Linked DNA regions of Homo sapiens: all the other regions are linked to region 2. Evidence: promoter capture Hi-C in 16 types of primary human blood cells and fetal thymus (Javierre and others, 2016). All regions are on one chromosome and are shown on one strand. The core of a region is centred on a gene start or on the middle of the fragment in contact, and the rest is flanking DNA. Distances in the headings are between cores, read along the strand shown. Region 1 overlaps RAD51B (RAD51 paralog B). Region 2 holds the start of GALNT16 (polypeptide N-acetylgalactosaminyltransferase 16). Region 3 overlaps RAD51B (RAD51 paralog B).

Region 1 (3,342 bases), core at 558-3,057, 1.4 Mb before region 2:
TTTGAATTTTTAAATTAAAGACGGGGTTTCGCCATGTTGGCCAGGCTGGTCTCGAACTCCTGACCTCAAGTGATCTGTTCATCTCAGCCTCCCAAAGTCCTGGGATTACAGGCGTGAGCCACTGTGCCTGGCCATTACATGTTAGCATATTGTACCAAACAGGGCTCCATTAGGAAAATAGAACCAGTAGAACATATATTAAGAGAGTTATTGCAAAGAATTGGCATATGCAGATGTGGAGTTGTCTGAAATCCATAGGGCAGGCTGTTGGAAAGGGCAGGCTAGAACTCTCAGGCAAGGGCCTAAGCTGTAGTCCATAGGTGGAATTTCATCTTTTTAAAGGAAGTCTCAGCTCTGCTGTTAAGGCTTTTCAAGTGATTGAATTAGCCCACCCAGATTATGTAGGATAATCTCTAGTACTTAAAGTCATCTGTTTATGGACATTAATGACATCTACAAAATCCTTTCATAACAATGCATAGATTAGTGTTTGATTGAATAACAGGAGACTGTGGACTAGCCAAGTTGACACAAAACTGACTGTCATATATTTTTTGTTTGTTTTTTGTTTTTTTTTTAAGAGACAGGGCCTCGCTCTGTCACCCAGGCTGGAGTGCAGTGACATGATCATAGTTCACTGTAACCTCCAGCTCCCGGACTTAAGAGAGCCTCCTGCCTCAGCCTCCTGAGTAGCTGGGACTACAGATGTGAGCCACTGCACCTGGACTTTACATGTATTTTTTATGGAAAATAAATACATTTTTGACTAAAAAAAGTGAAAAAAGAGTGGCGTTGTTTTATGTTTTTGCAAATCTCTTTAGTGTCTGACTTAATAGAAGACAGCCTGATTCTAATATCTGCTTCTGCATTCAGTCTGTTGCACTCTGTTGTTTTGGTTGAGATATGAAGATCTGGCCTTATACTGGTTATAGTTGGAAAGGGAGGAATATTTTAATAGTCTCTTCAGATAATTAAAGATATGCTTCTTTGATACTACACCAGGAATTGAGTAATAGTTGCTTAGAGGTTAGTTGTGATATAGAATCTGAAACCATATTATTGCATTTTTTCTACAGTTACATTAAAATCTATTCATCTGTCTTAGGCTCTTAATGGATATTTACCTATGCATGATTTTGTAATATTATGCATTTATCACTCAGAAAATATTGGTTCACTGTCTTATGGAGTTCTAAATGTTGACACATTTTATTACTCAATATAAAAAAATTTCATTAGTATCTCCACTGATCTGAACAAAAAGTATTTAAGTATTGGGATGCAGTCAAACTCATGGTAGCAGATGTAAGTTTTTTAGGAATCTGATTTTTCATTAAAAGCTTGAATTTTATCATTGGCAATAAATATTGCCACTTGTTTTTCTTGAAGTGTCGGGCTTACTTTGCTCATTTTGAGAAAACGTCTACCAAATACTTAAGTCAGAAAAACCATAACTTATCTATCAATCATTCTTTCAAGTAAAAATGGTCTCCCATGGAAAAAGTGACTTCTTAGTCTGAGAACCCAATTGTACAGATGTTTTTCCTTGAGACAATGGTTGTACTTCAGAATGTAGTAGAAGTGCTTCTATTTTGTCAAACAGAATATTAAAAATATGTCTGTGTTCTAATAAAACTCTATTGACAAAAACAGGCAATGGGCCATAGTGCACAGTTTGACAACCCCTGCTTTATTTAACTCCTTGAGCAAATGTAGAAGATTAATAATAGCCGTTTTGAGGTTTTTATCCATGAATGCCATCATATATATAATTTTTTAAATCTGTTTTTATTGACTGATTTTTCTCCTGGTAATGGATCTTTTCCTCTTCCTTTACTTGTCTGGTAATTTTTCAATTCGATGTTAAACATTGTAAATTTTACGTTGTTGGTGGGTGCTGGATTTTAACATATGTTTTTCAAGAGTGTTAGGTTTTGTTTTAAGGTACATTTTAGTATTAGTTTGATCCTTTTGCAGGTTGCTTTTCTATGTTGTTATGGAAAAATCCCAGGTACAGTCATGCTTCGCTTAACAATTGGGATATGTTCTGAGAAATGCATTGTTAGGCAATTTCATTGTTGTATGAACACCCTACAGTGTACTTACATGCACCTAGATGGTATAGCCTACTGCGCACCTAGACTATATGGTATAGCCTATTGCTTCTAGGCTATGAACCTGTACAGCATGTTACTGTATTGAATAGGCAATTACAACACAATGGTAAGTATTTGTGTATCTAAACAAAGGAAAGGTATTGTAAAAATATACTATATAAGCTTATGGGACCACTGTTGTATAAGTGATGCATCATTGACTGAAATGTCGTTATGCAGCACATGACTGTGGTTTTTTATTCTGAAACTTATTTAGCTTCACTACTAAGGTAAAATCCTTCTGAAAATTCTGCCCAATGCCCAGTGTATAATAAGGTCTCTTTATTCTTCACCTTGTGTAAACCCGAACTGTTCTCACCCTGTGTGGGCACTAGGAAGTGTTCAGTCTGATACTTTCTGGTGGTTCTTTCCTCAACCTCAAGTAGTTTCCCTTCACACATGTGCAGATTAGTTCTCAAGTGGCCCTCTCTGCAGATCTTTGCAGTGCTCACTCTGCACACCTGCTTCCTCTCTGGTACTCTGCCCCATAAGTTCTAGCCACCTTAGCTTTCCCAAACTCCGATCCCCATCTCCTCAACTCAGGTTGTCTACCAGGCTCTGTTTACTTTCCCTTTCTTGTGTTGCAGCCTGGAAACTGCCTCTGGAGCAAACTGAGGTGATTGTAAGCTCATTGTGTTTGTTTCCTTTCTCTCAAGGATTACAGTCTCAAGCTTTCTATTGTTCAGTACCTGAAAACTCTTATTTCATGTATTCTGTCTGATTTTCTACTTATTATTTTAGTGCAATTCATGTACCAGTTAATCCTTTGTGGGCTAAAGTGGAAATCCCTTCTTTCATTCTCTCTTGAGTTCACTCTATCCAGGCTTAAGTTTCCAGCTCTATAATGCAACTGATTTAAAAAATTTTATCCAACCCAATAGCAGCATTCGAAAGAGTTGATCACTCACTTTTTCTTGAAAAGCTCTCTTCCCTTGACTTTTTATTTTTTTAGACAGGTTCTCACCTAACTCTGTCACCCAGGCTGGAGTACAGTGGTGCTATCATGGTTCACTGCAGCTTTGACCCCTCAGACTCAAGCAATCCTCTCACCTCAGCCTCTCGAGTAGCTGGGACCACAGGCATATGCCACCATGCCCAGCTAATTTTTTAATTTTTAGTACAGATAAGGTTTTGGTATGTTGCCCTGGTTGGTCTTAAACTTCTGGGCTCAAGAGATCCTCCTGCC
Region 2 (3,482 bases), core at 649-3,148:
TGGCGCAGTCTTATTAAACTCCCCAGGGGAGAGAGACCTGGGAGAGCATCTGGCGTCTCCAGACTCCTGCCCCTGTTGTGACTGCCACACCTTATGCCTGAAATTCCCTGCTACTTGTGTAGACCCTTTGTGAGGCCCTCTTTGTGCATTCTCTTCTTTCTAGGTCCCATTCCTGCGTGGGTCACTTTTGGACTTGTCTAAGTGTCATCGTAATTAGTCTTCTGAGTGAGGATATCGTATTGCAGTAATGACCCTGGGTTTTCCTCAGCAAAAACCCAACTAGGGTTTCTTCACCTCAACAGAAATGTATTGAGCATCTATTATATGTGCGGTTCAGTCTCGAGTGCTGGAGAAATGGAGAAAAGCCACCTGATTTTACTTCTATCTGTCAGGGTGGTGCTCATGGGATGCTTGTGGGGGGGCATGATGCTGTGACTTCAGTTTGCCTGATTCCCCAGATGGCTTCATTTAGAGGCTGGACCCTATGTGGGTCTTCGGAGTAGCCATGGTGTCCAGCAGTGCCAGCAGGAAGCAGACTCCTCAACAACTCTGCCCCGGCATTCAAGGACCTCCTGAGTTCAGACTCACCCAGCCTGGCCAACCTCAACTCCTATCAAATCCTAGGCCCCCTGCAACGCCTGGCAGCTCTCTCTCTTGAACACATCAAGCTCTTCCATCCTCTGGATTTTTGCAAGGCCTATTTCTGCAGTCTCTCCCCTGTCCTCACCTCCCCCTTCCTTACCTCTTAAGTGATTCATCCACCTTTCTGAGAGCTTTCCCAAAGGCCACCTTACAATAAATTATTTCTTCCTCTGTTGGATCCCTACTTTGTTGTTACACATCTATTCATTGAGCGCTCTGTGCCCGACACTGTGCTGGTTTCCTAAAACTCATCCAAGCCTCTTGCTTTCTGCCTGGAGTGAAGAGTAGTTCACGTTCTGATTCTCAGTGCCTCTAGGGCTGGAGCGGAATCTTAATGTCTGTGTCCTCGTCTCTCACCACCGCGTTTTGCACTTTGTCGAAAGGTGTCAGATGGTGAGATGGCTTCTAGACTGGGCTCTGCCCACTAATTAGCTGTGTGGCCTTGGGAGAATCATCCGGCCTCTCTTGCTGCCCTTCTTTCCGATGAAATAATGCTGACGATGATATTTCAGGGTTGTCCAGGGGTCAATGAGGCGGGATAGAGGGAAGCATCGTGAAATCTGGGAGCCCCAGGCCAGCGAAAAATGTGGAAGGGCCGTACCCGCACTCTCCTAGCACTGGGTGTGAGGCAGCGTCGTTTCCCCTTCGCGCTCTTCGAATGTCAAGTGCACCAGCTTCCAATCCCTCCTCTGGGCGGGCCCGGTCTGGCTAATCTCAGCTGCAGATTCCAGTACAAACTCAGGACTCTCCCCCGCCCAGCCGCCCCTACACAAGGACTCGCCGAACACACCTTGAATCCCGCGCCAGAGCGCAGCCCGGAACTGCAGCTCGCGGCGCGGGCCCAGGTCGGGGGTCGCGCGTCTCCAGTCGGTGACTCAAGGCCGCTCGGTCCGGGGGTGGGTGTGGGTCGGCAGGACCGACCAGGGCCGCGCGGGGGCAGCTGCCGGGCGTTCGGTCACCTAGCGGTGGGAGCCGAGGCTGGCTTTGGCCAGTCGCCATTCCGCCGCGGGCGTCTGTCTCGCCGGGTTCCCGGGCGCGGGAGGAAGGCCCGCGCCGCTTCCCACTCGGCGCGCTTCTCTCCCAGTGCGCAGTGGCCTGGTGGGTCAGCCGGCGGCGGCTGGAGCGCGGGGCCGGCCCTGCGCACGAATGAATGGGCGCCCGGGGGACGCGCGCGCTCGGGGCTGAAGGGCATTAGGACCGTGAGGATCGCTCCGCGATCCTGTCTCTCCCTATCACCCCCCCGCCCCCCCACCTCTCTCCTTTTTCTGCTCTGCAGGACTGAGCAGCTAGGCGCGAGCGAAAACAAACAGCTGGGGCTGCGAGCGCCCCCGCCCCGGCCCCGAGAGCACGCCGGCCCAGTCCCCCACCTGGGGCGCCCGTCTGCCCACCATGAGGAAGATCCGCGCCAATGCCATCGCCATCCTGACCGTAGCCTGGATCCTGGGCACTTTCTACTACTTATGGCAGGACAACCGAGCCCACGCAGCATCCTCCGGCGGCCGGGGCGCGCAGAGGGCAGGCAGGAGGTCGGAGCAGCTCCGCGAGGACCGCACCATCCCGCTCATTGTGAGTACGCCCCGAGCGTCGGCCGGCCGGCTAGGGAGCCGCGGCGCGCGTCCAGACCCTGCGCGGCGGCCGAGGGCGCGGGGCCCGGCCAGGGCTGAGTGCCCGCTGCGCCGGGCCGGCTTTGTATATGTTGGAGCATTCCTGCCCGTTGTTATGGCAACCTCTGCCGGGCGGCGGGGCTGGGGCGCACCGACTAAGGGAGGGTGACAGAGGGTGGGGGCTGGGAGAAAGTGCTGCAAGTTTGGTGGGCCCGGCGTGCGCGCGCGGCTGGGAACGTGGCGGCTCTCCCGGCTCTGCGCTGCCGGGGCCGGGAGTCTGGGGGCTGCGGGAGCCTCGTGTGCCCCGGAAGGCTGCCGGGCCCAGCGCGCGGCGAGCGGGCGGTGGGAACCACTCGCAGCCGAGCGCGTAGGTGGCAGTGCGCAGCCCCTCTCCAGCCTTCTGGGGGCAGAGGACATCGGGTGGGGGCGTGGGTAGGGGAAGGCTCTCTAGGCGCTGCGCCTGGCTTCGAACCCCCTTCTGAGCCGGGTCAACTTGAACCCGCTTCTTCGGCGCGGACACCCAGCTTCCCCGGAGTTCTCTGGGTTGAGGAGAGGTCTCGCACTGTACGCGTCTCTCACTCCCAACCTTAGGGTCCGCCACCACGGGTAGGTGGGCAGTGTCAGCGCCCGAACTTGGCGATACCCTTGCATGAAGTCAGCCTCGCGACATCTAAGCGGGCAGGGAAACAAAGGCAGTGTGGCACAGCGGGGGCGGCGGCGGGGCTGCGGGGGCCCTTGGCGCTCTGGGGACCCGGGCGGGGGCGTGCGGAGCCGCAGCCGCCCTGCAGGGGGCGATCCTGTCGCCGTCTCCGTCCGAGCCCCAGGTGACAGAGCTGTGCGTGGCCAGGCAGGGGCACCTGTTGAGGCGGGAGGCTTTGGCACCCGCCGAGAGTGCGCTCGAGCGGGCGCATTCTTCCAGACGGGGGCGGTTGGTGGACGAGAGCCTCGGACGACCCTCGGGAACTACCAGGGCGGGGCAGCCTGGCCGGATGAGGACCAGGAAGAGGAGAGCCGAGTGGGGCGGGGGTAAAGGAGTGAGGAAGCGTGGCGATTCCGACAAGGAAAGATCTGGGCCTGGGGGTGGAGGGGTGAGGAGATCCGCGGGGGAGGTGCAAGGTCCGGAGGGCTGAGGCTTGTGTGGAGCCGAATCCGAGAAACGCATCCAGACGCGGATCTGAACCCCAGGAATATCGGGAAGTTCATTGGAGAGTGTCCCCTCATATTCCCATCCTGCCC
Region 3 (3,022 bases), core at 354-2,853, 1.2 Mb before region 2:
TCTGAGATGGAAAATTTCTTCCTCATTTACCATCAAAACTACAAATATTCTCCCATGATTATTTTCCTCTGTTGCTTCTGCTCTGAATGATATGACTTTTTTTCTTTTCCTAAAACCCTAGGTTCCATCCACATTCACCTTAGAAGGATTTTGATTTTTCTCTGATTCTATCTTTCTCCCAAATTCTGTATGTAGCCTAGTGATTATGAGCATGGACTTTACAATCAGGCTTTGTGTCTGATTTGACTCAAATTTGTGTCTGTTACTATGAAATCTTGGGCAAATTATGTATCTCTCAGCCTCAGTTTTCTTGTGTGTTGAAGATAATAATACCTAGGTCATGGAGTTGTCGTGAAGATCAAAAGTGATATCTTTAAAGTGCTAAGCATAGCAGGTACACAGTAAGCATGCAAAATAAAGGTCCTTGCATTATTTTTACCTCCCTTTCTAGTGGCTCCTAACCTTATTAAGAGTCTCTTGTCTTAAGAAATTGTTCTACTACTTCAGTATTTAGCACTCTCTCTCTCTCTTCACCATCACAGCTATTCTCCACTTTTTATCTCCTATTTATTTTGGCTCTCACATCAGCCTGGCTTCCCAAGCATTTCAAATTTTATTTTTAATCTTATTTCTTTTCCACCCCTTTCTCTCCAAATTTGCTCTGCTTCCAATAAGTTCATCTATCATGGCTCAAATCAGAAAAATAGCAGATGCCCTTGTTCTTTTGCCCTCTCTACATTTAATCATCAAACAGAGTTCTGATAATTCTGCTGCCTAAATAGTTCCTAAATTTTTCTACATCTCTTCTTTGGGTGCTACCATTTCAGTCCAAGGCACTATCATCTCACACAGTATTGTGACAATAGCCTTCTACTATTCTCCCCTTTGCCACACTATTCCATACTCCACACTATAGATAGAGTGATAACAAGAAATGTTATTTCCCTTTATAAACATTCTAATGAGTTTTCTTGCTCTTAGGGCAGAGCTCTTCTTGATCAGGTCTTATTTATCTCTTCTTTCAGCTCTATCTTATACCACTATTACCCTGTGCATGCCCTAGCTCTGATGAGTTTCTTTCAGTTTCATTCAGATCTCTTATTTCAGCTTTTCCACATAGTGTTCCTCTGCTGCCTTCCTGATCCTTCTTGGGGATCATTGCTACTTGGCCTCTGGTTTCAACCTAAACTTTACTTCCTTGAGTGACCTTCGCTTAGGCTAGGTACTTCTGTGGTCTGTTCTTTATTACCGTATCATCATGGTGCTCATGACATTTTACAGTTCCTTATCTCCCCCCAAGATTCCAGAAGGCAGGAGCCATGTCTTTTTCATTCTCTACCACAATGCCTGGCCTATAGTAGACACCCATTAAAATTTTGTTAAATGTTGTTAAATAATTAAAGCAAGAGAAAAATCATCCTATATAACATGTTAGGGTTTAGAACTACATATGGTATTCCTGTATTTAACTTTGAATATTTCTTTAAACATAAGTAAATGTGGAAAATAATAATGCTGCTTTTCAGCACATGCTCTTATTTTTCTATCTTCACACATTCCCTAATTTTAAAATCTCTTTATGTTTGTTTTTATTCCAGACTACAAACATCAAATCTTTTTTTTTTCTATTTGGATGCTTTTAAGTATAAAGTGTCACTTAATATCAGCACTTCTGCCAACTCTTATTCATTTTTCCAGCTGTATTTGGACAACATTTACATAGATAATTTTGTGAAATTTTCAACTAGAAGTTGAGTTGAGATAAATCATGCAGTTTTCAATTCAGTGTATCCTGAAAGATAACGAAACTCACTGAGCTGCCTGGTTTTCCAACAAGCTACATAGAAAGCATGAGGAGGGCAGAAGGCTATGGCTTCCACTGTTTTGACCACTTCACAGCCCTTCCCGCAGACTGCTTGGAGATGGCTCAAGTGGAACCTGTTGATAAATTAATGATCCTCTTTTTCCCAGTCACCATTGAGCCAAAGTAGGCTATGGGGCTGAATCATCCCAGACAGGGATGAATGAATGTTCTGAAAAGCTGAAACATAAACTGTCAGTTAAGATGCATTTTCTTCAAGTTTATTTGTGACAGATGATGGAAGGTAGTTGATATTGACTGAGTTTGATTGTTTCTTAGGAACAATCACAGTCATTTGATTGTTGTTCCTAAGAAAGTAGTCTTTTTAAAAAAACAAAATCTGAGATACAAATGAATCACTATATGTTAATTTTCCTTGCCCTTCTTAGGTGACCACTGACTATATTTTACCAGTTGTTAATGTAGCTTTGGGGGGGATTTTGTTCATTTTTTTGGTGCACCTTGGATAAAAAATAATTGGAAATATTTCTCATTTTGCAATTACTGACTTTTCATACTACTGGAATACAGGATTTGTCAGAGTTCTTATCTGACCCAGAATAGATTAGACACGTTTTAAGATCAGTAAGAATCATCTGCTTTTTTTTTTTTTGGTGGTGGGGTGGGAACATGGTCTTGCTCTATTACCCAGGTTGGAGTGCAGTGGTACACTCACAGCTTACTGCAGCCTCTACCTCCTGGGCTCAAGCAATCCTCCTACTTCAGGCTCCTGAGTAGCTGGGACTACAGGTGCTTGCCACCATGCCCAGTTAATTTTGTATTTTGTGGAGTCAGAGTCTCACTGTGTTTCCAAGGCTGGTCTCGAACTCTTGGGCTCAAGTGATCCTCATGCCTTGGCCTCCCAAAGTACAAGTATTGCAAATGTGAGCCATTGTGCCCAGCCTATTTGTCTTCTTAAGCCTACAATAAGAATGTTGAAAAGATAGTTTATTTATATAACCCCATTTGATACAAAATTCACATCAAATAGAGTTAATTAAATAATGGATGTCCCTTGTTCATCATTTCAGGCAGATACAAATACCACTTTTAGCAAAAAAGGTAAATCTCTTGTTTTAAGTTACCCAGACGAAGATTATATAGAAAGTTAGGGTAATGACATTCCCAAGGCAAAAGTTCTTCAGGGAAAAATAGTAAGCC

What was found. Contacts are between HindIII fragments. The CHiCAGO score rates a contact against its expected background, and 5 or more counts as called.
Region 1: a contact is called between a fragment that was not itself captured here and the fragment with the promoter of GALNT16 in region 2, in 1 of 17 cell types (non-activated CD4 T cells). The highest score is 5.1, in non-activated CD4 T cells.
Region 3: a contact is called between a fragment that was not itself captured here and the fragment with the promoter of GALNT16 in region 2, in 1 of 17 cell types (neutrophils). The highest score is 6.1, in neutrophils.

The regions. Positions count from the first base shown.
Region 1 is chr14:67,878,881-67,882,222 of GRCh38, forward strand. The region is part of intron 5 of RAD51B (RAD51 paralog B); the gene reads left to right. Among named protein-coding and RNA genes, the nearest start is that of RAD51B, 61 kb to the left of the region's middle. The HindIII fragment of the contact is 939 bases long and covers 1,339-2,277 here.
Region 2 is chr14:69,258,260-69,261,741 of GRCh38, forward strand. GALNT16 (polypeptide N-acetylgalactosaminyltransferase 16) reads left to right here and starts at 1,899. Exons shown (of 15, transcript NM_001168368.2): 1 at 1,899-2,208. The coding sequence starts at 2,032. GALNT16-AS1 (GALNT16 and EXD2 antisense RNA 1) reads right to left here and starts at 2,268. Exons shown (of 4, transcript NR_184249.1): 1 at 2,031-2,268. RefSeq lists a silencer at 2,945-3,004. The HindIII fragment of the contact is 12,811 bases long and covers 1-3,482 here.
Region 3 is chr14:68,031,804-68,034,825 of GRCh38, forward strand. All of the region lies in intron 7 of RAD51B (RAD51 paralog B), which reads left to right. Among named protein-coding and RNA genes, the nearest start is that of RAD51B, 210 kb to the left of the region's middle. The HindIII fragment of the contact is 5,207 bases long and covers 1-3,022 here.